Linked DNA regions of Homo sapiens: regions 1, 2 and 3 are each linked to region 4. Evidence: promoter capture Hi-C in human tissues and cell types (Jung and others, 2019). All regions are on one chromosome and are shown on one strand. Each heading gives the region's core, a stretch centred on a gene start or on the middle of the fragment in contact. The rest is flanking DNA. Distances are from core to core; before and after follow the strand shown. Region 1 holds the start of BSG (basigin (Ok blood group)). Region 2 holds the start of HCN2 (hyperpolarization activated cyclic nucleotide gated potassium and sodium channel 2). Region 3 holds the start of CDC34 (cell division cycle 34, ubiquitin conjugating enzyme). Region 4 holds the start of R3HDM4 (R3H domain containing 4).

Region 1 (5,785 bases), core at 313-2,812, 340 kb after region 4:
TCAGCTTCCTGAGTGGCTGGGATTACAGGCGTGCGCCAACACGCCCAGCTAATTTTTGTATTTTTAGTAGAGATGGGGTTTCACCATGTTGGCCAGGCTGGTCTTGAACTCCTGACCTCAGGTGATCCACCCGCCTCAGCCTCCCAAAGTGCTGGGATTACAGGTGTGAGCCACCACGCCCGGCCTCACTATAAATCTTTAACCCAGAACCAAATGGGGGTCTCAACAAAGGAAGAAATTTTCTATGAAGCAAGAAAGGATGTCATGCTTTTCTCCCGGAAAAACACACCTCAATCCATTTCCCAAATGCGCTCTCCAAACCACGTTTGCCCACCCTCAACACACGGCCCTCCTAAGACAGCACTGGAAACCGAATGCGGGTCAGAGTCGGCTAAAAACGACTTTCTCACTATTTCCTGCGCTGAATCGGGTGGCCAGGGCCCCCTCACTGTGACCTTGGAACCTCGACTTCCCACAGGGCTGTTTCCTCGCCTGTAAAGGAGGAGGGGCGTTCAGAGACCACCTCATTCTGGGTGCTGAATCCAGGCAGAATCAGAGGGAGATTCCGCCTTCCCTTCCACGCAGGGCCCCTCGAGGGAGCCTGCGAGGTCTTAAGAGTCTGGGAGAACACCCGGGGGCAGGTGCACGCCCTAGGCAAGACGCCAGGGCTAAATCCCGTGAAGAACGGTAATCCCTTCCCGATCCGGAGGGCTGACCCACTCAGAGCCTCCATGTGCTCTTGGAGGACAAAAGCCCCTTTTCCAGAAGGGAGCGCCAAGATGATCGCTCCAGGCCGCACGGGCCCTTGCGGGGGCCCCAGAGAGTCTCAGGGGAGGGTCTCTGACCCTAACACTCGCAGGCAGGGTGGACCCGTCTCCAGATTCCACGCCCAGGCCGCTTTCCCCAGGTCCTGCGGAGTCCAGCCCCAGCAGGACGGGTTGGGCAGGCACCAACCAGCCCCTGACCCCTGGCTCCAGGCCAAAGGGGACGCTCACCCAGGCTTTGGGTCTCCCTTCTCCTGGCCGATGGGACCGGCGGGCGGGCCACCTCCAACCGCCTTCGCAGACGCCCTCACCCAGGAAGCAGGTCACCCCCAACCCCAGGTGACCGAAAAGCAAGACGCCCACCTCCCCTGACCAAGACCGGCCTGGCCAGGACCCCCTGGCTCCCGCCTCCAAGCAGGGAGCTTCACGCCCACACACAGAGGCCGGGCTCGAGGCCGGAGCGCCCGGGGGAGCCCGGCAGGCCGCGCCGGGAGGAACCTCTAGTCCCCCCTCAAACCCTGGGACTTCACCCCCAAGCTCCATGCTGGCGCGGGAAGCCCCCGGGGCCGGCCTTTCGCACCCCAGGCCGCCCCGCGCCGAGGCCCCAGGCTCCCGTCGGCTTCGGGTCGGCACCGCGGCCTCCATTCCCGGCCCCTGCAGGACCGCACCCCCGCCCCCTACCCGCTCCTCACCAGCCCCGGAGGCTCCGTGGGTGCCCAGCAGCGCGAATCCCAGCAGCACGAACAGCGCAGCCGCCATGATTCCTATTCCTCGCCGGTCCTACAACCTCCAACCGCTGCCGCCGCCGCCCGCGGCCGCTATAAAAAGCGGCGGAGGCGCGGACCGGGCGCGCGCACGCACGGCGTCATCTCGGGGGCGGGGCGAGCGCCGGGGACGCCGGTCGCCCCGCCTGCGCACGCGCGCACACGCTCGCATGTACGCGCCGGCTCCGGCAGGCTCACGCTACGGAATCCGGGCGGCGGCGCACGTGACCCGGCGTTGCTAGGAAACGGGAGTGGGGCCTGCGGGGACGCGGCTGGAGCCTGCGCATTTCTTCCTTCCTGCTTTCAAAGTTGCAATGAGCGCAGAGCGGTGCGCCCGAGGGGGTTGAAGCGTTGAAAGTGTGTTACCCAGATTTTATCTGAGTTAAACACGGGCCGGCCGCTGTGGCTCACGTCTGTACTCCCAGAGCCTTGGGAGGTCGAGGCGGGAAGATCGCTTGAGCCCGGGAGCTCGAGACCAGACGCGGCAACATGGCGAGACGCACATCTCTGCCTTTAAAAATGTACATATATATATATATATATGAACGTATTAATAAATTAGGTGGGAGGAAGTGACCTCCTCCGCCCAAATAAAAATACTTAAAGGGCACTTGAATCTGGATCTCAGAAAATGAATAATTTCTTAGTATAAACGTCCTGTGCACCATTTGGTTGGGACAAGTAAGTTCCTCTTCAGAAACTCAACTTCCAGGTCTAAAGTTGTCAATCAACCTTACCCCCTTCTTCTTTCCTCGCAGGTGGCGCGTTTACCCTATTTTAAAAAAGTTTTAAGTTTTAGCCAACCGGGATCAGCTTAGATTGTGGGCGTCCAACCCCAGCCAACAGGGAAAGGACAGAGGAACAGAAGCTCCCTTCCTTTGTCCCGTGTGCTCTGGAGATTGCATCCCACGCAGGCAGCCCCCTTCCGTACAAGTAAAGTGGTCTCGCTGAGAAATTTTCTAAGTGCTGGTTTCTCTTTGCGGGACCGACTCGCCGCCCCCAAATATCCCATTTGGATCCCATTCTGTTTCAGGAGAGGCTGGCGGTTACCTTTCTTGGGGAGACGCGTCCGACTGCTTCATTGTGGGGGCCTCAGGAGCGGAGGATCGGGTCCCGCCCGAGGTGACGCGTAAACCCAGACTCTCAGCAACGCGGGTAGGAAGGACCCTTGAAGTTCCGCGGCGACCACGGTGAGAAAAGTCGCTATTGGGGCGACACAGGTGGGGGCGTCTCTTGGAGGTTGAAAGTGTGTGTTGGAAGTTAAACTCGGAGTCGCAATGCAAGAGGACCGCAGACTAAGCCGAACGCGAAGGGCTAACTGGAAAGGGGCAGGAATGTGGCTACACTGGCGGGAAGAGCCCGTGGCGACGGGAGGGGGATGTGCAGAGTGGGTGGCAGGTGCCATCTCTGCAGATCAGGACCGGCGGGAAACTTGTTTACTGAGACTCAGACGGGGAGGCCCAGAGGGTGAGGAAGTCAGGTTGGCCTTGGAAGTAGGAAACGAAGAACGAGGGCGCTGAACGAGCCAAACCTTTGAAGAGGAACTTGTGAATGAATGAGACGCGCCATATCTTTTGTGTGTGTGTGTGTTGGAGTCTCGCTGTGTCACCCAGGCTGGAGTGCAGCGGCGCGATCTCGACTCTCTGCAACCTCCGCCTCCCGGGTTCAAGCGATTCTCCTGCCTCAGCCTCCTGAGTAGCTGGGATTACAGGCGCGCACCACCACGCCCGGCTAATTTTTGTATTTTTAGCAGAGACGCCCCATATCTAAAGAAGGGTGGGATCCTCTAGACCACCTTCCCCCACTCACCCCTCCGCCCCTCCCAACCCACCCCCTCCGCCCCTCCCAACCCACCCCCTCCGCCCCTCCCAACCCACCCCCTCCGCCCCTCCCAACCCACCCCCTCCGCCCCTCCCAACCCACCCCTCCGCCCCCCCCACCCACCCACCCCACCCCTCCGCCCCTCCCCAACCCGCCCCTCCGCCCCTCCCACCCACCCCTCGCCCCTCCGCCCCTCCCCCACCCGCTCCTCCGCCCCTCCATCCCTCCCCTATAGAACCACCTGGACCTTGCCACCCACATCCCCGCTGGACAGCCACTAGAACATGCCCCTTCCTCAGGAAAGCTCCAACGGGAAACAGAACAATGCCAAAGGGATATTCGAAACTTTCGGCCGGGCGCGGTGGCTCACGCCTGTAATTCCAGCACTTTGGGAGGCAGAGGCGGGTGGATCACGAGGCCAGGAGTTCAGGACTGGCAGCCTGGCCACGATGATGAAACCTCGCCTCTACTAAAAATACGAAAATTAGCCGGACGTGGTGGCGGGCGCCTGTAATTCCAGCTACTCAGCTACTCGGGAGGCTGAGGCAGGGAATGTCTTGAACCCGGGAGGTGGAGCTTGCAGTGAGCCGAGATCGCGCCACCGCACTCCAGCCTCGGCAACAAGAGCGAGACTCCGTCTCAAAAAACAAACAAACAAACAAAAACCCACAGAACTTTCCTTTTGCCTCCTGCTCAAAAAGACCTGCCTCAGCCCTTTTCCCCTTTAGGGAAGGACCACCGGGAGGAAGGGATATTGACTTCGTAAATGCCCCCTTTAACCAGTTCAGAGGTTAGAAATCTAAAAGAACTCAAACCACTGTTAGATGACCCTTTTGGATTCGCGGATCAAATTGACCAATTTCTGGGGCCACAGCTGTACGCTTGGGCTGAATTAATGTCTACCCTCAGTACTCTCGTCTCAGGAGAGAGAGAACCATGATTCACAGGCCGCTGTGTTAGTCTGGGAGCGTGAACACCCCCCGGTCAGAACGTCCTTTCAGCGGAGCGTAAATTCCTGGCCCAAGATCCTGGGTGGGATGACAATGTGACCTAAAAAACATGAGCGATCTCGGAGATGGGATAATTACAAGGATTCGGGAATCAGATCTGCAAACCCAAAATACTTCCCGAGCATTTAACGTACAACAGAGGAAACATGAAGGGCCCATGGGGTTTTTTTTGGAGACAGAGTCTCGCTCTGTCGCCCAGGCTGGAGTTCAGTGGCGCGATCTCAGCTCACTCCAACCTCCGCCTCCCGGGTTCAAGCGATTCTCCTGCCTCAGCCTCCCAAGTAGCTGGGATTACAGGCGCCCGCCACCACGCCTGGCTAATTTTTTGTATTTTAGTGGAGACAGGGTTTCACCATGTTGGCCAAGATGGTCTCGATCTCCTGACCTTGTGATCTGCCCACGTCGGCCTCCCAAAGTGCTGGGATTACAGGCGTGAGCCACCGCGCCTGGCCAGGCCCGTGGAATTCTTAAACAGACTTAATAAACAGATAAGAAAATATGCAGCTGCCGGCTCACGCCTGTAATCCCAGCACTTTGGGAGGCTGAGGTGGGCGGATCATGAGGTCAGGAGATCCAGACCATCCTGGCTAACACGGTGAAACCCCATCTCTACTAAAATACAAAAAAATTAGCCGGGCGTGGTGGGGGCGCCTGTAGTCCCAGCTACTCGGGAGCCTGAGGCAGGAGAATGGCCTCAACCCAGGAGGCGGAGCTTGCAGTGAGCCGAGATCGCACCACTGCGCTCCAGCCTGGGCGACAGAGCGAGACTCCGTCTCAAAAAAAAAAGAAAGAAAGAAAAAAGAAAATTGGAAAGACCATCCCATAGAGGAACTTTTTTTTTCTTTTTTGAGATGGAGTCTCACTCTTTTGCCCAGGCTGGAGTGCAGTGGTGCGATCTCGGCTCACTGCAACCTCCACCTGCCAGGTTCAAGCGATTGTCCTGCCTCAGCCTCCTGAGTAGCTGGGACTACAGGCACGCGCCACCACGCCTGGCTAATTTTTGTACTTTTAGTAGAGACGGGGTTTCACCTTGTTGGCCAGGCTGGTCTTGAACTCCTGACCTCAAGTGATCCGCCTGCCTCCACCTCCCAAAGTGATGGGATTACAGGCATGAGCCACCACGCCCAGCCAAGAAAGAGAACTTTTAACTGCTGGGGGCAAAGAAATAAAATACAAAGAAGAAATTTTACAGCTCCTAGGCCGGGCGTGGTGGCTCAGGCCTGTAATCCCAGCACTTTGGGAGGCTAAGGCAGGCGGATCACCTGAGGTCAGGAGTTGGAGACCAGCCTGACCAACATGGAGAAACCCCATCTCTACTAAAAATACAGAATTAGCCGGGCGCGGTGGCAGGTGCCTATAATCCCAGCTACTAGGGAGGCTGAGGCAGGAGAATCGCTTGAACCTGGGAGGCGGAGGTTGCGGTGAG
Region 2 (5,469 bases), core at 2,970-5,469, 320 kb after region 4:
CCCCAGCCCTTCTCGTGCAGAGACCTCCAGCCCCTGCCCCTCTCCTGCGGAGACACCCTCCTTTGCACGACTCAGGCTTTCCCAAGTGGACCTGTGTGGCCTTTAGAATCAGCGGCGGCTGGGGTGAAGGGAGTAGGAATGAACTATACTTATTTTTGACCTAATTTTGCTCTGGGAGGCACAGAAGACCCTGCCGAAGCCCTGGGGGTTGCATAAGGCCAAACCCCTTCCTTCTTGGTTTTCACGCCTGTTCCAATTCAGGCACCAACCGTGATCACCTACAAGGAAGGGAACTTGAGCCTCTGGAACCCAAAACCTTGAACTTGGGTCCTTGAACTTGCTCTTCCACCAGCACCCCAGGGAAGCGCCCAGCATGCCTCTGGGGACTTTCAGACGTCAGGCCGGGGTGTAGAGCCACCCACAGCCCCAGAGACTTCAGCAATAGACCAACTGCACTTCTTCTTCCTTTTCTTTTTTTTTGAGACCAAGTCCCACTCTGTCAGCCAGGCTGGAGTGCAGCAGCGCGATCTCGGCTCACTGCAACCTCTGCCTCCTGGATTCAAGTGATTCTCCTGCCTCAGCCTCCCGAGTAGCTGGGATTACAGGCGCTCGTCACGATGCCCAGCTAATTTTTGCATTTTTAGTAGAGACGGGATCATCTCACCATGTTGGCCAGGCTGCTCTCGAACTCCTGACCTCAGGTGATCCGCCCGCCTCAGCCTCCCAAAGTGCTGGGATCTCAGGCGTGAGCCGCTGCACCCTGGCACCAACTGCACTTCCAAAGGGGCCAGCCGCCCAGGCCTGAGAGCCGAAATCTGGACCCACGTCAGCCCAGGACCCATGCTCTGCCCCTCAGAAAATTCAGCAAATATGTGGCACCTGCTGTATACTGGGACTGGGACGTGGGGCGTGAAAGAGGCCACTTCCGAGCACGGGAGCAGGGTGGACTTGGGCGTGGCGGAGACAGCTGGGCAGCGAGGAAGAACCGGGGTGAGGGCGTGCCTGGGGGGCACAGGCTGGGCAAGGAGCACAGCACTCTCTCAGCAGGAAGGGGAGGTGAAGAGAGTGTGAGACGTGAGGCTGAGACACTGGCAAGGCTGTGAAAGACCCCATCCTTCTCCCTCATACCATCCCCACCGTGCAATTGGGGAAACTGAGGCAGAGGGGCCCAGCGAGGACCCAAGACACCCAGCCAGGCACAGGAGGCCTTGGGCCCGAAGCCAGTTGGGGCCAGGCTCCTGAGTCAGCTGCAAACGTAGAGGCCCCTTCGCTTGCTGTGGGCTGCCCCAAAACACCCTCCACAGCAGGGTCCGGCCGCCTGCTTAGGGAGCTTTTGAGATATTCTTGGGGGTCTTTTTCCACACTGATTCCACACTGGCACAGGTCCCAAGCCTGGGGAGGGTCCTAGGGGCCCCGTGCACCCAGCTTGGCAACATCGAAATCCTTTTTTAAAATCTGACTGCCGTGACTCCCCTAGTCCCGAAGACAGGCCCCGCTAACCCCATTCCCTGCCTGCTCAGTTCCACTTCAACACTCATCTGCCGGGGTGGGGCTGCACTTGGTCCACACAGGGGCCTCTGAGCCCTCTATGCCTCAGAGCACAGAGCGGGGCCACAGCCTGCCCAGGCCTCCAGGCGACCACGCCCAAGGAGGGTGGAAGGATGAGAGGGCTTCACTCCTACCACCGGCCTTCCCCCCAAGCCCCGGGATCAGCCATCTGCCCACCTGCCCCCCAGGCCACCGACCGCCCCTCTGCAGCCAGGGGGTCGCTGGAGCTGCCCAGGGGAGGGAGTGGCTGGTGTGGGCCTCCACCTGCCAGCCCCCACGCTGCGGTGCACCCATCTCTGTCGAAGGTCATGCTGGAGGGGACGGAGGGGAGTGGGCACGTTCTACAGCTCCCTCTCCACCGCGTCCCTCTCCGGTCAGGGGGTGCCACTGCCCGACTGGAAGTGGGGCCAGGCCGACCAGCAGCCCTGGAAGTCCAGTCCTTCCCGCTCACTGTCCACATTTCGCAGGCCAGAGCCCAGATGCTGACCAAGCTCTCCCGGTGGGGCACAGAGGCAGGGTGGGAGGGGCCGGACACAGCCCCTCTGGGGATTTCGGGGCTCCTCCCACCCCTGGCCTGTCTCGAAATCCAGGCTTCTGGTCAAAGCTGTATTCACCTCTCAGGAAGGCCTGGGGTGGGAGGAGGATTCCAGGGCCTTCCTCCAGGCTCTGTCCAGGACGCATGTGCCCCAGGCCTCAGTTTCTCCAGTCAAGCACTAGGGGTGCAGAGAATCCAGGGGAAGAGAGAACCCCACAGCCTCCCTGCCCAGTTCCGGGGGTCCAGGGTCCGTGGGGGCTGTCCTGGGGCGCCCAGGCCTGGAGGAGGAGAGACAGGCGGGAAAACCGCAGGCTTCCCAGGTCCGGCGCGCTGTCCGTGGTGCTGAAACCGCGCCCGTCCCGCGCGCCCGGCCTCGCTAGCCCGGCGGGCCCCACCTACACCCTCCACCTGCACCCTCCACACCCCACCTCACACCCCACTCGTGGATACACAAACACACACGCATCCCTCCATGGTCGCGTGTGTGAGACCTGCCTGCGGCTCACACTACTGCCCACCGGTGCACACCGGCCCCGGGCGTACACGCGCACGCCCGCCACCTGGTCCCAACACACACAAACCACACGTCCCACCAAAATAAACCCACCGGAGGCGCACACGCCCGCGACCACCACGCAAACACACTCCTGGAGACACACCTCTCCGGCCACAGGCTCGCGCCCCGGGAACCCCGCCGCGGTCACGGGCCCCTGTTCACACACAGCCCACGGGGACACGCGCCGGTCTCGCTCTCCGGCCACAGCACGCACAGCCCAGGAACCACGACCGCAAACATCAGTGGCGGTGGCCCCGCGCCGGCCCTGCTCCGAGCCTTCCACGCATTAGCCGGCTGGATCCACAGCGGCGTCTACACACCCACCGCCGCATGCGCGCACCGCCCGCGGCTCGGGTGGAGCGGCTCCCGGGGACACAGCCTGGGGACCCGCACGCTTTCCAGGCCCGCGGCCCCGGGCGCGCCTCCTCGCAGGCGGGGCGCGGGTGGACGCCGTGGGAGCCGCTTAACCCCCTCTCCCCCGGCCTCCCTGGGGCGCGTCCTTCCCGGGCGCCCTTCGTTCCTCCTCCCTCCCGCTCCGCCGCCTCTCTGGGGCCCACGTTCCCCTCTATTCGTCCTCTCTGCCCCTCTGCGCTCAGACCCTGGCCCTGCGGCCCACCCCACCCGCCGCGCCGCAGGGCGGAGGATGTCGGGGTGCGTGGGAGGGGGGCGCTCCGCGGTCACCCGGGGAGCCCCCCCAGAGGCGGAGCCTCGCGCGCCGGGGTCACTCCGGGGCGGGTCCCGGACACGCCCGAGGTCACCGAGGAGCCCCGAGGTCACCGGCCCGGCGCGCCGCCCCGCCCTCCCCAGGCGCTCCAAGGACGGCTCCCCGCGCGCCCGGCTCCCCGGGCCCCCTCGCGCCGACCGGCCCTCCCGGAGGCGGTACCTGAAGTCGCTGTACGGGTGGATGATCCAGGCCCCCGCCGACTTGACGCGCTCCTGCTCGCGCTCCACGGCCTTCTGGCTGCCGAACATCCGCAGCGAGAACTTGTTGACGCCCGGCTGCAGGAGCGCGCCGAACTGGCGCTGCATGAAGCTGGCCTGGCTGCCGCGCGGCTCCCCCGCCGGGCCCGCCTCCTCGCTGCCCGCCTCCTCCGCCGGCCCCGGCCCCGGCGCGGGCCCCGAGGCCGCCCCGCGGCACGAGAACGACACCTTGGGCCCCCGCGCCGGGCCCTCGGGCCCCGCGGGGCTGCACTGCGGCTCGCCGCGCCCGCACTCGCCGTTCGGGCTGCCCTTGGCCGTGCTCGCCGCGCCCGGGGTGCCGGGGCGGCCGCACGAGCTGTCGCGGCTGCGGAGCCGGCCCCGCGGGCCGCCCTCATCCGCCGCCTCCGGGGGCAACGCCTCGGCCCGGGGCGGGTGCTGGGGGGGCGCGGGCCCGGGGCCCGGGGGGGGCGCGGGCGGCGGCGGCGGCGGCGGCTGCTGTTGGGGGGGCGCGGGCGGCGGCGGCGGCGGCGGCCCCGGCGCGGGGGTCGCGCCCGGGCTCTCCCCGGGCCGCCCGCCGCCCCCGCGCGCGTCCATGGCGAGGCGGCGCCGGGCAGTGCGGAGCGGAGCCGCCGCCGCCGCCGCCGGCCGGAGCCCGAGGGAGGGGGGAGGCGGGGGCGGGGCGGGGCGGAGCCGCGGGGGGCGGAGCCTCGCGGCGGGGGAGGGGCGGGGGAGGGGCGGGGGCGGGAGACCCGCCTCGGCTGCGCCCCCTCCCCGCGCGCCGCCTCCGCTCGGCGCCGGGAAACTCGGGCCGCGGGGTCGGGGGCGCCCCAAGGTCACGCGGCCCGAGGCCTCGGAGCCCCGCGCGGGCCTCTCCCCAGGAGGGGAAACTGAGGCCCGCGACGTGTAAGGACGCGCCCAAGGTCACCGGGCCCCGCTGCCCGGCCGGAGCCGCCTCTCCTGCGCCGCGGCTTCCACCTCTGTCCGGAGGGCACCGGCGCGGGGAGGGTGGACGCGGGCCTGGGAGACGGGAGAGGCCGCCACGGCCAGCGCCTCCTTGCTTTCTGTGAGGTTTGAAGACTTCCACGACGAAAGGGTGTTTCTAAAGGTCACAGGAGCCCTTGCTGGGTCGCCTGTGGGCCCTGGACAGAGACCCTTGAGTGCGTGGGGAGGGGCAGGCCGGCTTGGGCGCCGTTCTGGGAGACTCAGGCACTCCTCTCCCTGGTCTGCATTTGAGGAAACTGAGGCCAAGCCCAGCCAGACAAGGAAAACTGGAAAAGCCACCCGAGGGTGTGGGGTTCCCACCCACCCCTCAAACAGTGCCCTGGGGAGCCGTGCGGCGGGGGTCTCCTCTAGGTCTGGTGGGCTTTAGATTGGGGTCACAGGGAGACCCAAAGCCCACTAGCGCCTTCGCACGGGTACCAGAGCCCCCTGCCCCGGGGTTGCCTCCTTTCCCCGACCCCTCGGACTCCGGGTGCAGCTGTGCCCCCAGTGCCTCCAGTCCCCAGCTCTGAGACAGGTGCTTCCCAAGGCTCTGCTTCTGGGCCGAAGCCGGCTGGGCGTGGGTGCTGCTTGGTGCCAGGTGACATGAGGCCTCTGTCCCTAGCCACCCAGCCCACCAGACAGCCGGGAGGGGGCAGGTGAGGAAGCTGGCAAGTGAGAGAGAGGAGACAGACAGTCACACTCGAAGAAGTGGAGGCTGAACATCCCCACCTGGAGGCAGGAGGCCCTCCTGGGACCCTCCTGGCACCTGGCCTGACGTCCTCTCAGCCACGATGTCCCGTGTGCCGGGTGCCCCCCACCCATCTGCACCTCGAGGCCACCGGGGCAGAGATGGCCCTCTTCCTACACCCAGGAGGCACTCAGTGGTACTTGAGGGAGGGCCAGCATGTGCCCGGCTGACAGTGGATGG
Region 3 (5,286 bases), core at 920-3,419, 380 kb after region 4:
GCAGGCAGTGGCTGGGCAGCAGCGGCCCTGGGCACTCAGCAGGTTCTGTATTTCCACGCTCCCCCAACTCCCTCCCAGGCACAGCGGGAAGGGAGAGTCCTCGTGGGTGGCAGCACCCCCGTCTCAACACTGGCTTCTGAGGACTGACCCTGTGGCAGATGTCTAGAGGCCCCCTCCCTGGGAAATCCGGAAAACCGGATTATCCCCTAATGCTGGCCCAGGAAGCTCTGCCCACAATCCCTGGCAACCGGTCTGGTGGGCACAGCAGCCAGAAACCCCCATCCCCTCCTTCCAGAACAGCAGCCGCCTCACAGGCCTGGCTTCGAGGTGGGGCTGCGGCTCCTCAGCCAGCTGCTCCCCCAAGCAGACAGAAGGGGCTGGCGGAGGAGCTGCTAAAACCATTTGGCAACCTCGAGACCCAAACTCTGTTCCCTGTGTGGGGACGCAGGATTCCAGATGCAGAACCCACGGGCGTCCCACTCTCTGCTCAGGAATCGCCCCCAGCAGACCAGGCTGCTGCCCTCACAGCCGCTGAGCGGGTGCGGTTCAGACACTAATTAGCTCGGAGAGCAGACACATATCGTGCGGGAGGCATCGGTCCCTCGGCCCCACGCCCGCAGCTGGCCGGGGCAGAGCGGGCCGGGCCCTGCAGTGTCGTGTCGTGTCCAGGCTCTTGGCAGGAAGTGACGGTGGGAGGGGGAGATTCCTGGACAGGGTGCTCGTTCCCCACCGCTCACACAGGGCCCCTCGCTTTGTCCCTCTGGCCCCAAGAACGAGGTCCCTGAACGCTAAAAGAAGTCAAAGGTCACGTCTGGATCGTGAGATCAAGAAAACTGCCCTGGTTTTGGCCTGAGTCCTTTTCACATGAGACAGAAACAGCCTCCCCGCTCCCAACAACAACAAAAACATCCAGAAACTGCTTGGAATTAAACCGCCAGAGGGCAGAAGAAACGGCCCAGAACTCGGGGTTTGGGTCCCAAGAAGCCACCTGTTCAGTGGACTCTGAGAAAGGCCAAGACCAGCTGGGATGAGCGAGCCCGGAGCTTCTGAGGTCGGGGTCCGGGACGCGGGCCCGAGCCGGGAGGCCTGGAGAGAGCTGCAGGGAGCAGGTGGGAGGCACGCCCCTACTTCGGCCTTCCCGAGGGCGCAGGTTACATAAAGCAGGGGATGGAGCCCAGGGCGCCTGGCCGGCTGCTACTGGCAAGGGTGGCCGCTTTCCAGGCGGGTCCTGGCTGCCAAGGCTCATCCGGGCCTTTGTTGGAGACTGAGCGAGTGGCCGCGCCAGCCACCCCCAGGCTGGCCTCGCTCCCCCGCTCACGGGCCCAGCTCCCCAACAATAGCAGCTACGGGGTCTGGGGGGGCCTCTTTGTCTCCTCCGGGGAGGGCGGGGAGGGCAGCTGAAAGGCCGGCGCGGCCTGGGCTCCGCTCCCTCTTTCTCGCAGGGGCGGAGGGGGAGGCAGCCGGGGTCCAGCCCCCGCCAAGGAGGAGGTGGGCAAGAGCCCCACGCCCAGATGCTACAGGGAGGGCCCCCGGCCACCCCTCCGGGGGCCAAGAGCCTAACAGGGGACCGGACGATGCCTTGAAGGGAACTGGGGATTTTCGAGGACTGCAGCAGAGGCTGAAGGTCCCCGAGACGGTCCGAGGAGGGGGCCGGGCAGAGCTGGGTGGGGGAACGTGGCCATAGAAGGGAAACGAGCCCAAGCCAGGAGGCTTCGGGGCCCGCCCAGCAACAGCGCTAGGACCGCGGGGCAGGGAGCTGGTTCCCGGCGCCCGAGGTCGCTCGTGGGCTCCGGGACCCGGGCGGGGGTCGCCGCGCTCACCTTGAAGTAGCCGCCCTCGTAGTAGGTGTTGGGGGGCCCGAAGATGGCCACCTCCCAGTTGTATAGATCGCCCTCGTCCACCAGTGTCACGCGGAATCCCTCGACCGGCTCTTCCTGCAGCCCCTTGAGCTCCAGCAGCAGCGCCTTCTGCGAGCTGGGCACTAGCGGCCGAGCCATGGCGGCGGCGGAGGGGCCCGGGGTCGGAGCAGCGCGGGGCCGCGCGACCACCGCGAGTTCGCGAGACGGGCCGGGCCGCGCACCGTCCGGGGGGGAGCCACCGGGGCCGCCGCCTGCCTCCTCCTCTGCGCCGCCGCCGCCGCCCGGGGACCCCGAGCGCTCCAGCAGCTCTGGCGCCGCCGCCCCACCGGCGCTTGCCTTGGCCGGGCCCGCGCGCCCCGCCCCCCGCTGCGCCTGCGCGCACCGCCTGGCCCCGACTGCGCCTGCGCTCCGCGGCCAGGTCCGACTTGCGCCTGCGCGCCCGGCCGCAGGGGACGCCGGGAGGTGGAGTCCCGGCCCCGGTCCCGCCTACGGCGCCGAGCGCCTCCGCCGGGAGGGAGGGTTCGAGCGCGCAGCCCCGGGCTCTTCCGATCCCCGAGGCCGCCGCCGTCGCCCCCTGCTCGACCAGCACCGCGGACGCTGTGCGCAAGGAGGCGGGCAGGGCTGCTCTGCGCCGTCACCGGCCCGGTCCCCCGGCTTTGGGGTTGTTTTGTGACGTGCCGGCGCGGGGCGGGGCCGCGGGCGGTGAACGGGGCGCGGCGCGGGGTCCTGACCGGGACCGGAGGGGCAGGGCCGGTCCATCCGGCGCGACCCCGCGTCCCCGTCTCCGTTTCCCCGTCTGTGCAGGGGACGGGCGCGAAGTCTGTCCTAGGGTCGCGCTGGCCACGCGGAAGGGAGGAAGGGGCGGGAGCGAGGCGGGATCCGCAGACCTGGCTTCCAGGCGCGGCGCTGCCTCGGTTCCCCCGACAGCGGGAGCTCTGAGAAGTGGGCGAGGTCGGGGAGGGCTCTGAGGGGTGGGAGGGGCGAGGGCTTCCCTGGTCCCCGTTGAAGTCACCATGTGGTGTGAGGCGAGTGCAGGCGCTGGAGCCATCAGAGGTTGGCAAGGTGCTCCTGCCCCCCAGAGAAACTGGGAAAGAGGCCTACGCCGGCCAGCATCGGCTCAGCACCTGACCCGGGAGAGGCGCCAGCCCCACGGAGCCCCCACCCCAAGCTGAGCCCGAGCCTGGCTGTGCCCTCCTCCCAGCCTGACCTTTGTCCTACCCGAGTCTTTTTTTTTTTTTTTTTTTTAAATGAGACAGAGTCTCGTTCTGTGGCCCAGGCTGGAGTGCAGTGGCACAATCTCACTGCAACCTCCGCCTCCCGGGTTCAAGCTAGTGTCCGCCTCAGCCTCCCGAGTAGCTGAGATTACAGGTGCCCGCCACCACGTCCGGCTAATTTTGTATTTTAAGTAGAGATGGGGTTTCACCATGTTGGCCAGGCTGGTCTCGAACCCCTGACCTCAAGTGTGTTGTTAGGTTTTGAAAGGAAGGGGAGGATGCAGTTTGGACTAATAAAGGGATCCGTCTGCGTCGGCCTCCCAAATGCTGGGATTATAGGCATGAGCCACCGCGCCCAGCCCACCTGAGTCTTGACCCCAGCTGATTCCGGGCATCACTGTGACCCCACCTGACTTCTGACCTGGCTCAGTGGCTGCCCAGACACCCACATGCTCCTTGCTGTGAAGCTTGGTCGGGAGAACTGGCCGTGGTGAGGACGGGGCAGCCCAGCCTCCCCTGAGTCGTGCCCGTGACGGGTGGCCCTGCCCTCGGACTGTGCCAGTGGCATTGTTGCTATGCCCTGGGTACACACAGCTGCATCAACATACAGGCCGGGCACGGTGGCTCACGCCTGTGATCCCAACACTTTGGGGGGCCGAGGCGGGCGGATCACAATGTCAGGAGATCGAGACCATTGTGGCTAATATGGTGAAACCCCGTCTCTACTAAAAATACAAAAAATTATCTGGGCGTGGTGGCGGGCGCCCGTAGTCCCAGCTACTCGGGAGGCTGAGGCAGGAGAATGGCGTGAGCCCGGGAGGCGGAGCTTGCAGTGAGTCTAGATAGCGCCACTGCGCTCCAGCCTGGGCGACAGAGACTCCGTCTCAAAAAAAAAAAAAACCAAAAACAAAAACCAGTCTGGGACCAGGGCCACTCTGTCCCGCAGGTGCCCCAACACCTGGCCCCGGCTTCATGAGTCTGGTCCCCGGAAGAGGACCAGCAGGCAAACCTGTCTGGGGAAAGGAAAACAGCATCAGGAGTGGAGAGGGAGGGAGGGATCCAAGAAAGAGCTCTGGGCCGAGCGGTCACTTCCAGAGCTGTCCAGGGCCGAGGCCGAGGCGTCCTCACCCGTAAGGGCCTCTGGGCCTCCTCCCTCAGGCCCCTCTGCCCGGCACCCTGGGGGCCTGGAGTAAAAGGAGGGTCTCGGGACTAGTGGGGCCTTCTGGCTGTGGCCCCTTCACCAAGGTTCCCAGGGTTTTGTGAGCCTCAGTCTCTTCCGTGCCACAGGTCGTGGATATATTGCCAGCATCATGGAGCCGGCAGGCAGCAGCTCATGGGTAAATTAATGCTAATTAGAATTAACCACGATTCCTTCTCTAAGGGCTCCCAAGATCTCTCTTCTTCCGTACACCCACATCCCAGGAAGCACTGTGTGGGTGAGGGAGGTTTTCTTTCTCTCGCTTTTTTTTTTTTTTTTTTTTTTTGAGAAGGAGTCTTGCTCTGTCGCCCAGGCTGGAGTGCAGTGGCACGATCTTGGCTCCCTGCAACCTCCACCTCCCGGGTTCAAGTGATTCTCCTGCCTCAGCCTCCTGAGTAGCTGGGACTACAGACGCATGCCACCACGCCCTGCTAATTTTTTGTATTTTTAGTAGAGAAGCGGTTTCACCGTGTTAGCCAGGATGGTCTTGATCTCCTGACTTCGTGATCCGCCCGCCTCGGCCTCCCAAAGTGTTGGGATTACAGGCGTGAGCCACCGCGCCCGGCCTGGGTTGGGGAGATTTTCAAGCCCCTCCAGCTGGTCCCACAGGGCCCCGACCCCCAGGGAGGCTCAGGCTCACAGCACCCGGGAGCGGTGGACACCAGGGGCTTCCACCTGCCTGCTTGGGGGCTCCCTACTCTGTGGGAACGGGTTCGAATTGGACTGACGCAAGCCCTGGCTGCAGGGAGGGGCCATCCCATCAGTTCCCAGGGCCCCCACCCTGGGCTGCAATGATTGGTTCAGGAACAAGCATGTGACTCCTGACGTCCAATGAGATTCAGCTCTGGGACATTTCTCTGGGATCACAGTGCTGGGGTGGCTGAGCTGGAAGGACCTGGGGCTGGAGTTACGGGGTCATGGTGTCACCACGGGGCCTCCGAACAAAGGCGGCATCACAGGAAAGCCGAGCCGGCTGATGAGAGGGGAAACGTTGATAATCCTATTAGTGATCCTG
Region 4 (5,081 bases), core at 716-3,215:
GGAAGTTCTCTGGAGTTGCCTCCCTCTCTCACGAATAAATGTTCAGGTCCATTCTTTGAGCATCTACCCTTACCCTGTGCCTGATGGATGGGGAAACCACTCATTCCCGATGCCCAGCTCCCCTGCCAGTCACTCCTGATACATCTCTCCATTGTCCTTTTTCACCTCTTTGCACATTTATCTACAGGAATCTCACAGTGCACGCTTTTTTGAGTCCATCCACAGTTTCTCATCCTTTTCTTTTTCCTCCTTACTCTTTCTTTCTTTTTCTTTCTTTCTTGCTTTTTTTTTTTGAGACAGCATCTCGCTCTGTCGCCCAGGCTGGAGTGCAATGGCACAATCTCGGCTCACTGCAAGCTCTGCCTCCTGGGTTCACTCCATTCTCCTGCCTCAGCCTCCTGAGTAGCAGGAACTACAGGCGCCTGCCACCATGCCCGGCTAATTTTTTGTATTTTTGGTAGAGATGGGGTTTCACCGTGTTAGCCAGGATGGTCACAATCTCCTGACCTCATGATCCACCCGCCTCGGCCTCCCAGAGTGCTGGGATTACAGGCGTGAGCCACTGTGCCTGGCTATTTTTTTTTTTTTTTTTTTTTTTTTTGAGACAGAGTAGTCTTACTCTGTGGCCCAGGCTGGAGTGAAGTGGACGGCTCCCTGCAACTTTTGCCTCCCATGTTCAAGCGATTCTTGTGCCTCAGCCTCCCATGTAGCTGGGACTATGGGTGCATACCACCACGCCCGGCTAATTTTTGTAGTTTTAGTAGAGATAGGGTTTTGCCATGTTGGCCAGGCTGGTCTCAAACTCCTGACCTCAAGTGATCCACTGGCCTTGGCCTCTCAAAGTGCTGGTATTACAGGTGCGAGCCACCGTGCCCAGCCTCCCTCTTGCTTTATTTTATTTTATTTTATTTTTTTGAGATGGAGTCTCGCTCCTCGCCCAGACTGGAGTGCAGTGGCACGATCTCGGCTCACTGCAAGCTCCGCCTCCCGGGTTCACGCCATTCTCCTGCCTCAGCCTCCCGAGTAGCTGGGACTACAGGCCCCCGCCACCACGCCCGGCTAATTTTTTGTATTTTTAGTAGAGAGGGGGTTTCACTGTGTTAGCCAGGATGGTCTCGATCTCCTGTCCTCGTGATCCGCCCACCTCGGCCTCCCAAAGTGCTGGGATTACAGGTGTGAGCCACCGCGCCCGGCCCTTTCTTTTTATTTTAGAGATGGGTTTTCATCATGTTGCCCAAGCTAGTCTCAGACACCTGGACTCAAGTGATCCACTGGCCTTGGCTTCCCAAAGTGCTGGGATTACAGGCGTGAGCCACCACGTTGGCCACCAGGCCTAATTTTAGAGAAGAGTAAACTGAGGCTAAGCAGGGGAAGGGGTTGCCTAGCCGAGGCTCCAGGGCTGGGAGGGGCAGGTGGAAGGAAGGCTCGGGCAGTTTTAATTTCCGCCATCCTCTGCCTCCAAGAAGAACGTCCCCTCCCTCGTCGATGCTCAGGCCTTAGTTTCCCTGTCCGTGTCTCCTCGCCTCCCTGGGCTGGATTCCTGGCTCAGTCCGCAGCCCGGATCGGGACGCAGGGTTGTGGTTGAGTTTTCGACCCCTCGCCTAGGTGTCCCTCCTTCCCGGAGCTAGATTTCTGGGTGTAGGGATCGTGGCCGGCCCCGCCTCCCGCCTCAGTCTCCCCGTTCGTCCCCCCAGGGGCTGGATCCCGGCCCCGCCTGCCTCGGTTTCCCCGTTCGTTCCCTGATGGCTGGATCCCGGCCCCGCCTGCCTCGGTTTCCCCGTTCGTTCCCTGTTGGCTGGATCCCCGCCCCGCGCGCCTCGGTTTCCCCGTTCGTCCCCCCAGGGGCTGGATCCCCTCCCCGCGCGCCTGGGTTTCCGCGTTCGTTCCCGGCAGCCGGGAGGTGGGCGCCCCCGCCCCGCCGCGCAGCCCCAGGCCCCGCCCCTGCCCGCCTCCGGGCGCCCGTCACTTCCTGCCCGGCCCGGTGAAGGCCCTGCCGGGCGGCGGCGGCGGCGACAGCGTGCGAGCCATGGTCGCGCTGGAGAACCCCGAGTGCGGCCCGGAGGCGGCGGAGGGCACCCCGGGCGGGCGGCGGCTGCTGTGAGCGCGGGCGGGCGGGGCGCGGCGGGCGCCGGGGGCGGGCTGGGCTCCCTCCCCTGAGATCCTCTCCCCGCCTCCCCTCCCCTCCTTTCCCTTCCCTCCCCTCGTTCCCTTCGTTCCCCTCGCTCCCGTTGCTCATCTTCCGGGGCTTCAGCCTGTCCTGCCTTCCCTTCTCGCCCGCTGTGGACCCCCAGGCTGGGTGGGGGGTCTTCATTGTTACTCAGCGGGGACACCCTCCTGGCGCTCCGGGGGCTCGCTGGGGGAGGGGACCCGGATCCACGTCCCCATTTACCTGTTCCGCCCCCTACTCCCCGGTCCGCCCCCTAATCCCCGGTCCGCGCCCCACTCCCCGGTCCGCCCCCCCACTGCACTGGTCCGCGCCTCCATTCCCGGGTCCACCCCCTCACTCTCCGGGTCCGCCCCCCAACTCCTCGGTCCGTGCCCCCACTCTCCGGTCCGCGCCCCCACTTCCCGGGTCCGACTCCCCCCACTCCCGGGTCCGCGCCCCCCCACTGCCCTGATCCACGCCCCCACTCCTGGGTCCGTCCCCCCACTCCCTGCTCCACCCCCCCACTCCCCTGGTTCTTGCCCCCATTCCTGGGTCCGCCCCGCAACTCCTCGGGTCAGCCCCCCAACTCCTCGGTTCCACCCCCCAACTCCCTGGTCCGTGCCCCTACTCTCTGGTCTTCGCCCCCACTCCCGGGTCCGCGCCCCCACTCCCGGGCCCGCCCCCCAACTCCTCTGTCCGACCCCCCCACTGCCCTGGCCCACGCCCCGACTCCCGGGTCTGTCCCCCCACTCCCCAGTCCGCCCCCCAACTCCCTGGTCCACCCCCCCCACCTCCCCGGGGCCGCGCCCCCACTCCCGGGTCTGTCCCCCCACTCCCCGGTCAGTCCCCCAACTCCCTGGTCCGCCCCCCACACTCCCGGGTCCGTCCCCCCACCTCCCCAGTCCGCCCCCCAACTCCCTGGTCCACCCCCCCCCCCACCTCCCCGGGGCCGCGCCCCCACTCCCGGGTCTGCCCCCCCACTCCCCGGGCCCCGAGGTGCCAGCCATGGAGCCTCCCGCCAGAGGGTCCTGGGCCCCTGTCCGCGGGTCGGGGTTCACCCACGTGGCCATGCGCTCCAGCCTGGTCCCTGCCGCACGCCCGGCCCCACTCGCCCTCTGGGCTTGTCCGCGCCCCCTGCCTTTCCGGGCAGACCCGGCTCCTTGCTCTCCTTTGGGTAAATCCCTACAACCCTTGTGGGTTAAAACCTGGCAAGCAGGAGCCCGCGCGTCCTTCCCGGGGGACCCGGAAGCGGGGCGGTCTGTGCGGGGGTCAGCCGTGTGTCACCCCGGCCCGCACAGGGACCCGGGGACCCAGGGTGCGCCCCTGGGGTCCGTGTTGGTGGAGGGCGAGGAGGCGGCGCGTGTTCCGTTCCTGCCTCCTCCGTGTGCGGACGGCGCCACCTGGGCAGGTTATTTCATGCTTCCATGCCTCAGTTTCCCCTTCTGTAAAATGGGATAGTAAGTGTGGCCTCTTCTCCGAGTGGTGGGGGTTACCGAGCTGGCACTGCGGCGGGCCCAGCAAACAGGAGTGTCCGTTGTCTCATTACTAATTATCGTTAATGTTTTATTGGTTATTTTAGTAGTATTAATATTTTGAGACGGAGTCTCGCTCTATCGCCCAGGCTGGAGTGCAGTGGCACGATCTTCATTCACTGCAACCTCCACCTCCTGGGTTCAAGCGATTCTCCTGCGGCAGCCTCCCCAGTACCTGGGATTACAGGCGCCCGCCACCACGTTCAGCTAATTGTTGTATTTTTAGTAGAGATGGGGTTTCATCATGTTGGCCAGGATGGTCTTGATTTCCTGACCTCACGATCTGCTTGCCTCGGCCTCCCAAAGTGCTGGGATTACAGGCGTGAGCCACCGCACCCGGTCTTTAGTATTATTTGTATTTATTTATTTATTTGTTTATTTTTTTGAGACAGAGTCTCACTCTGTCGTCCAGGCTGGAGTGCAGTGGGGCGATCTCGGCTCACTGCAAGCTCCGCCTCCTGGGTTCACGCCATTCTCCTGCCTCAGCCTCCCGAGTAGCTGGGACTACAGGTGCCCGCCACCGCGCCCGGCTAATTTTTTTGTATTTTTAGTAGAGACGGGGGTTTTGCCGTGTGAGCCAGGATGGTCTCGATCTCTTGACCTTGTGATCTGCCCGCCTTGGCCTCCCAAAGTGCTGGGATTACAGGCGTGAGCCACCGCGCCGGCTAGTATTATTTTTAAATGATCATTTATTACTATCATCGTTATTATGTTTATTATATCATCACTATTATCTCCACTCAGAGGCCATACCCATCTCTACCGAGGTGATTTGTATCTGAAGGAGAAAGGATGCGTCTTTGATTGGTTGATTGGTTAATTGATTGGAGACAGAGTCTCGGTCTATTGGCCAGGCTGGAGCAGAGGATGCTTTTTTTTTGTTTTTGTTTTTGTTTTTCATATTAGAGACAGGGTCTTGCTAACTTGTCCAAGCTGGTCTCAAACTTCTGGGCTCAAGCCATCCTGCCTCCTCGGCCTCCCAAAGTGTTGGGATTACAGGCGTGAGCTACCACGCCCGGCCTAGTAGTAGTATTATTAATACAGGGTCTCACTCTATCACCCAGGTTTGATCACAGCTCACTGCATCCTCCACCTGCGGGCTCAGGCGATCCTCCTGCCCCAGCCTCCCGAGTAGCTAGGACCACAGGTGTGCACCACCATGCCGGCTATTTTTTTTTTTTTGAGATGGTTTCGCTCTTGTTGCCCAGGCTGGAGTACAGTAGTGCGATCTCGGCTCACTGCAACCTCTGCCTCCCAGGTTCAAGCGATTCTCCTCCCTCAGCCTCCTGAGTAGCTGGGATTACAGGCATGTGCCACCGCACCCAGCTAATTTTGTATTTTTAGTAGAAACGGAGTTTCTCCATATTGGTCAGGCTGGTCTCGAACTCCCAACCTCAGGTGAT

Evidence for each region. The method cuts DNA at HindIII sites, captures the fragments that hold promoters and counts their contacts. A contact is called where the count stands out against the background at its distance.
Region 1: the fragment with the promoter of BSG here is called in contact with the fragment with the promoter of R3HDM4 in region 4 in 4 of the 25 tissues and cell types used here (dorsolateral prefrontal cortex, heart right ventricle, mesenchymal stem cells and 1 more).
Region 2: the fragment with the promoter of HCN2 here is called in contact with the fragment with the promoter of R3HDM4 in region 4 in 2 of the 25 tissues and cell types used here (IMR-90 fibroblasts and dorsolateral prefrontal cortex).
Region 3: the fragment with the promoter of CDC34 here is called in contact with the fragment with the promoter of R3HDM4 in region 4 in 1 of the 25 tissues and cell types used here (small bowel).

What each region holds. Positions count from the first base shown.
Region 1 is chr19:568,373-574,157 of GRCh38, reverse strand. It overlaps BSG (basigin (Ok blood group)), which reads right to left and starts at 1,562. Exons shown (of 9, transcript NM_001728.4): 1 at 1,457-1,562. The coding sequence starts at 1,523. It overlaps BSG-AS1 (BSG antisense RNA 1), which reads left to right and starts at 1,910. Exons shown (of 3, transcript NR_184018.1): 1 at 1,910-2,049; 2 at 2,562-2,718. RefSeq lists silencers at 1,222-1,401, 1,572-1,791 and enhancers at 2,612-2,661, 2,742-3,314. The HindIII fragment of the contact is 13,063 bases long and covers 1-5,785 here.
Region 2 is chr19:588,631-594,099 of GRCh38, reverse strand. HCN2 (hyperpolarization activated cyclic nucleotide gated potassium and sodium channel 2) reads right to left here and starts at 4,219. Exons shown (of 8, transcript NM_001194.4): 1 at 3,523-4,219. The coding sequence starts at 4,154. It also overlaps the pseudogene LOC100420586. RefSeq lists an enhancer at 5,450-5,469. The HindIII fragment of the contact is 14,322 bases long and covers 1-5,469 here.
Region 3 is chr19:528,643-533,928 of GRCh38, reverse strand. It overlaps CDC34 (cell division cycle 34, ubiquitin conjugating enzyme), which reads right to left and starts at 2,169. Exons shown (of 5, transcript NM_004359.2): 1 at 1,821-2,169. The coding sequence starts at 1,997. RefSeq lists enhancers at 795-954, 1,025-1,074, 1,472-2,128 and silencers at 1,335-1,504, 1,925-2,664. The HindIII fragment of the contact is 13,520 bases long and covers 1-5,286 here.
Region 4 is chr19:910,103-915,183 of GRCh38, reverse strand. R3HDM4 (R3H domain containing 4) reads left to right here and starts at 1,965. Exons shown (of 8, transcript NM_138774.4): 1 at 1,965-2,097. The coding sequence starts at 2,027. RefSeq lists a silencer at 1,808-2,147. The HindIII fragment of the contact is 36,901 bases long and covers 1-5,081 here.